Regions from separate parts of the Homo sapiens genome. Here region 2 is linked to region 1. Evidence: promoter capture Hi-C in 16 types of primary human blood cells and fetal thymus (Javierre and others, 2016). All regions are on one chromosome and are shown on one strand. The core of a region is centred on a gene start or on the middle of the fragment in contact, and the rest is flanking DNA. Distances in the headings are between cores, read along the strand shown.

What was found. The method cuts DNA at HindIII sites, captures the fragments that hold promoters and counts their contacts. A CHiCAGO score of 5 or more calls a contact.
Region 2: a contact is called between a fragment that was not itself captured here and the fragment with the promoter of ZNF805 in region 1, in 1 of 17 cell types (non-activated CD4 T cells). The highest score is 8.8, in non-activated CD4 T cells.

Annotation. Positions count from the first base shown.
Region 1 is chr19:57,239,256-57,241,955 of GRCh38, reverse strand. It overlaps ZNF805 (zinc finger protein 805), which reads right to left and starts at 1,324. Exons shown (of 4, transcript NM_001023563.4): 1 at 1,035-1,324. The coding sequence starts at 1,064. RefSeq lists a silencer at 1,027-1,096 and enhancers at 1,217-1,486, 1,507-1,726. The HindIII fragment of the contact is 2,977 bases long and covers 1-1,375 here.
Region 2 is chr19:43,988,905-43,991,604 of GRCh38, reverse strand. ZNF155 (zinc finger protein 155) reads right to left here. Exons shown (of 5, transcript NM_198089.3): 3 at 1-57. Among named protein-coding and RNA genes, the nearest start is that of ZNF155, 6.1 kb to the right of the region's middle. The HindIII fragment of the contact is 3,880 bases long and covers 1-2,700 here.

The sequences.
Region 1 (2,700 bases), core at 75-2,574:
CTCAGTAGGTGTCTAAAACTTTGCCAGATTCTCTATACAAAAACGCTAGACCAAGGGCAGGTGAGAAGGGGACTACTTTAGTCTGAACTGCCATGAAAGGCCGCTTTAAAGAAGTGACATTTGAGCAGAGCCAACAAGATGTGAAAGGGTCTTGCAGAGATCTGAGGATAGTGTCTGAGGCTGAATGAACTGTAAAGGTGAAGGCTGAGGGGTAGGAAAGAACTCTGCGTGATCAGATTGATATGTCTGAAGGGCTGAGCCAGGGAGGAAAGGAAGGAAACAAGGACAGAGGTGGTCAGCCATAGTGGACCTGTGTCTGAAGCGCTGAGCCAGGGAGGAAAGGAAGGAAACAAGGACAGAGGTGGTCAGCCATAGTGGACCGGGTAGGGACTTGCAGGCCAAGGCTGAGTTCGGATGATGTGTGTGACGGGAGTCCCTGGAGTGGAACTTCATCCATCCTTCAAGCAATTATTAAGCAGCTTTCAGAGGCCTGACACTTTAGCAGTGGAAAGCTGCAGAAGGGCTAACTAGAAGTGGGGCATCGTATGTGATTGGTTAGGCTGAGCACGTATGGCTTTCTCTGCTTGGTCCTCTTTTGGAGGCGGAGGCAAAAATTAGAACAGTCAGTTACAAATCAAGTCCTATTTGGGGCCTACTGTTCCAGGAGTTACCGTTTAGCCTCCTGAAATGTCACCAGAGAGTAATCTAGCTCCTTGCAAGACTAACTTAAGGCAGACTGGCTTCCAGAGTAGTTTATTGCAGAACAGGAGGCTGGTTTCCTGGGCAGGTTGCTACAAAAAAATTGTACGTCACAGCCCTATAATCGATGTATAGTCTGCCTACTGTCCGCTTCAATATTCAGTCTCTCAGGTACTACCACGACAGGAGATAAACTAAGTGACGAGCCTGCTCCACGTTTCGTAAACAAACAAAACTACAAAGAGGAATCCTGTGGCTGTCTTGGCTTCCGGCCTGCCCAGGAGGCTTCCCCGAACTAGCAGAAAAGCAGCAAGGCCGAAACCTTGTCCACTCACCTGCGCCGGGTCCGTCAAAGCCATCGCCATACCGGGACCCTGTGGCCCTAGCGGGGCGGGGGCTGCGGCGAGCAGGGCGGGTCTCGCGGGCTCAGCCGAGCCCCACCCCTTCCCTGCGCCGGGCCCGGTGACCTTGGCTGACAGTCAAACTCTCTCGTTACGGGGAGGCTCACGGTTCGCTCCGAGACGCGGAGGTCGCTGTCGGCCTCCTACCTGCTCATTTCCCCAGCGCCGCCAGGGAGGCGGCCACGGAACACCGCCCCCTCCCTAGAGCCGGCGTGGACGGAACCGTCGCTCCCAAATTACGTCCCATCCAAATGCCGGAAGTCCCGCCCCAAGCTTCGCAACCCACAGGAAACGCCCCTGTCCTGGACCATCATTGGCCCCAGGGCCCGCCGTCGCACCTGGCAATGCCTTGTAGTTAATGTAGTTTTTCTCTACAAACCACCTGCAAAGGGGACAGATCCTGAGCCGGCAGGCCTCGGTGTAAAAGTCGCAGCGGGCCTACAGCCCGGCTCAGACCTGCCTCTGTCCTGGGGGCACAACTCGGAGGCCAGGGACCAAGCGCGAGACCGTCCATTCTTGGCCGGAGGAAATCGAGCCCCAGGAGTCAGGGACATTTGCCAGGGTCAGGGCCAGTGCAGAGACCCTGGACCAGGCTCCGGACTCTGACTTCCACCTTGCATTATTTCCCCTCCGGATCCTCTTATACAGATCAGCGGGCAGTCAGAGTAACCAAAGGGGGACGTCGGGCGGCGCGATGCCTCAGGCCTGGGATCCCAGCGCATTGGGAGGCCAAGGGGGGCGGATCGCTTGAGCCCAGGAGCTCAAGACCAGCTTGAGCAACATAGGGAGACTACCAAAAAAAAAAAAAATTTTTTTAAAATAAGCTGAGTGTGCTGGCGCACACCTGTGGTCCCAGAAGTCTGTGGCAGGAGGATCGCTTGAGGACAGGAGTTTGAGAACAGTCTGGGCGACAGAGCGAGACCTCATTGGTACCAAAAAAAAAAAAAAAAGAAAAAGAAAAGAAAAAAAATAGAGCGCGGTGGCTCACGCCTGTAATCCCAGCACTTTGGGAGGCCGAGGCGGGTAGATCACGAGATCAGGAGATCGAGACCATCCTGGCTAACACGATGAAACCCCGTCTTTACTAAAAATGCAAAAAATTAGCCGGGCGTGGTGGCTGGCGCCTGTAGTCCCAGCTACTCGGGAGGCTGAGGCAGGAGAATGATGTGAACCCGGGAGGCGGAACTTGCAGTGAGCCGAGATCGCGCCACTGCACTCCAGCCTGGGCGACAGAGTGAGACTCCGTCTCTCTCTCTCTCTCTCTCTCTACTTATATATACATATATTTATATATACATATATACATATATACGTATATATACATATGTATATATACGTATATATATGCACATATATATTTATATATATATTTATATATATATTTTTTGAGACAGGGTCTCGCTCTGTTGCTCAGGCCATAGTGCAGTGGCGCGATCACAGCTCACTGCAGCCTCAAACTCCAGGGTTCAAGTGATCCTCCCACCTCAGCCACCCAAGTAGCTGGGACTGCAGGCACGCACCACCACGCCCAGCAAATTGAGGGTTTTTTTGTTTTGTTTTGTAGTTTTTGTAGTCAGTTTCACCATGCTGCCCAGGCTGG
Region 2 (2,700 bases), core at 138-2,637, about 13 Mb after region 1:
CAGCCCCAGCTCCTCCTCAGTGAAGACCACAGCCACATCCTTGAAGGTCACTGCCTCCTACAACATCAAGAAGACATAACTTCAATCTTATGACCAAGGACTACTGGGGGAGAAGCGGCATTGAGCAGGGGAAGGGGATGAGTGGAAAGTTGTTCTCAGTATTGAGGGATGTAGGTCAACTTAGAGATTTCCCACTCATTCTGTCTATATCCTGACAATGACACATACTGATTTTCCTGAACTCCACCAGAAGTGCAATGATGAAGTCTCATACATTTATTCTGTGCACTCATTGAGTCTACTTGTATGTAACCCTCTAGGACTCTACATGCTGCATCCTGAGCTACCCATATATAGGTTCGACACATCTTGCCAACTGCCCCAGCAACATTAAACAATTCAGTCCCAACTTTGTTGGGTCCTCCTCTCTCGTACTCAAACCCTGGATGCTATTGCTTTTCTTTAGTATTTGCTAAACTAACAAGTTTTAGGTAACTGTGGGTAATTTTCAGGGTGGCCTTGAATCATTCTTTCTTGTGTATAGTTTTGAAGAATAAACATAGAACATGCTAGCAATGCAATGTTCCTGTCCTTCCTAGGGAAGATAATGTCTTGAGTTAGGGAGAAAGTGCCCAGTAAGTCGTATTGCCCCGGAGGTATATAACCTCGGGTGGGCTGCCTTCTGGGGTACCTCTGCTCTGGTGGAAATGGGGTCAAGATTCTACCCACCCCAGGACGTTTTCTTCAGCCTTGGATGGCCACCTCACAGTGTATCCTACACTCCTGTGCTCCCTTGCTGCCAATTTGTAGATAACAAATCTGCTTCACGTAATCTGTTGAGTGAGATCGTGTTCTGTCTCACAGGACTCACACAAGTTGGTAATCAGTGCACAGTGAACCTACTCCACAGTACCAGTGTGGACAGCTGAGTGGGACAGTTATGTAGTGTGTCCTCTACTCTCAAGGTACAAACCACAAATGTTAATTGCAGCCTTCAGTGTCCTGATCAGAAGCCAGAATGCATCACTGTACATCCTAAGGGTCTGCCCCTTCCTAACTGTGTGGCCTTAGACATGTTTGCCTACAGGATTTACTTTCCTCTCTAAATAATAGTCCTTATTTGGCACAGTATTTTAAAGGATTAAACAAGGAAATACATAGCATTTGGAAACATCTGTGCCACTGTTTAATGAACATTAGCTGGAATCTTTTTTACTGTTGTTACTAGCATTATCTATTTCATGGCTGCATAGTATTCCAGAGATCTGATGACCTACTTTTAGCTACAGTAAAGAATATTTAATTTTACATATTTTCCATTATCAATCCTGTAAAGAGCATCATTAAGTAATGATGTAGCAAGATGTAAGAACATCTTACTCTCTCATTGTTTAAAATAATAATTTCAAATGAAAATTAAAACATCAAAAAATAAGCACATTTAGAACTGTGATCATATAACTGCATGCTTTCTTCCCAGTTTTTTACCTACCTCCATAATCTTTGAACAGAATACAAGTACTTTGCTTCTCTTTATCATGACCAAGAGCAGGTTATAAGTATTCCCACAGTCTTGGTAATCTGATTTGGGGAACAAATCATTCTATTATTCTCACTTATTTGATTACAAATGAAAACCATCACTTTTCAAGGTTATTGGCCATCTCTACTTCTCCTTTTACATTGGCCTTTTAGTGTCCTTTGTTCCTATCTGTTTGGAGTTTTTCCTTTATTCTGTGCTCAAGGTTTTGATTTTGAATTTTATTTTCTTTAGGTATCCACGTGGCTAACATTTCTGCCCCAGGTCATTATTTCTTCTGGTAACATTGTGTGAGGCATCTTTTGCCAAAAGGGATTTAAAGATTTTCTATAACAACTATGGTAATCAGTATACTTCAGTGCCTGGAGTAGATGCCATGTCATAGTGACATGTGACAAGAAGTCACACCAAGTAGGGACAGGGAGGAGCAGCACCACTAGGGACACCATCACTCCACAGGGCACTCCAGACATCCACATCACAGGGCACAGGTTGCTCAATGGAGAATTCTGTCTCTCTCCTTGTTTCTCTTTTTCACCTGAGCCGAATGGCTAACACTCCTGACCTTTGGTTGCCTGTGTACACCTGAGAAGGTTTCTCATATTTCACCTGTTCAAGAAGAAGAAGAGACCAGGAACCTCATTCCGCTGCGCTGAGGAGTAAATGTAGTAACAGAACACAAGTGATTGGCAAAACTTAGTATCACTGGACATTTTAAATGAAGGCTTTCTACTGCTTTGGTTAAACTGCTTACTACATAAATGAATAAGAAGAGACCAGTAAATAAAGCACATGCAAAGTATGACTGAGACAAGGAGAACACAGAATCTAGCTCTTCCAGTGTGAAAACTCCAACAATATTTGTGTGGTGCAGCAGTTACATCCTTTTGTTCTGTGCCTAGTTAAAATATTCTATCTGCAAAACAGCCAATGTGGTACATATCAAAAGTACCCTTTCAAAATTGAGCTAAAATGGCATATGGTTTTCAAAATTAATTTTGTGGGAAAAGGTTATGTATAGGAAAGCTGTCACTGCAGTGTTGCTTAAAATATGTCTATGAGCGTGAGGTAGTTATAAATAAAAAGATACATCAATGTAATAGGAATATGATGTAACCATAAAAATGGAAGATTATATAACATATAAAAAGAGCACAGTT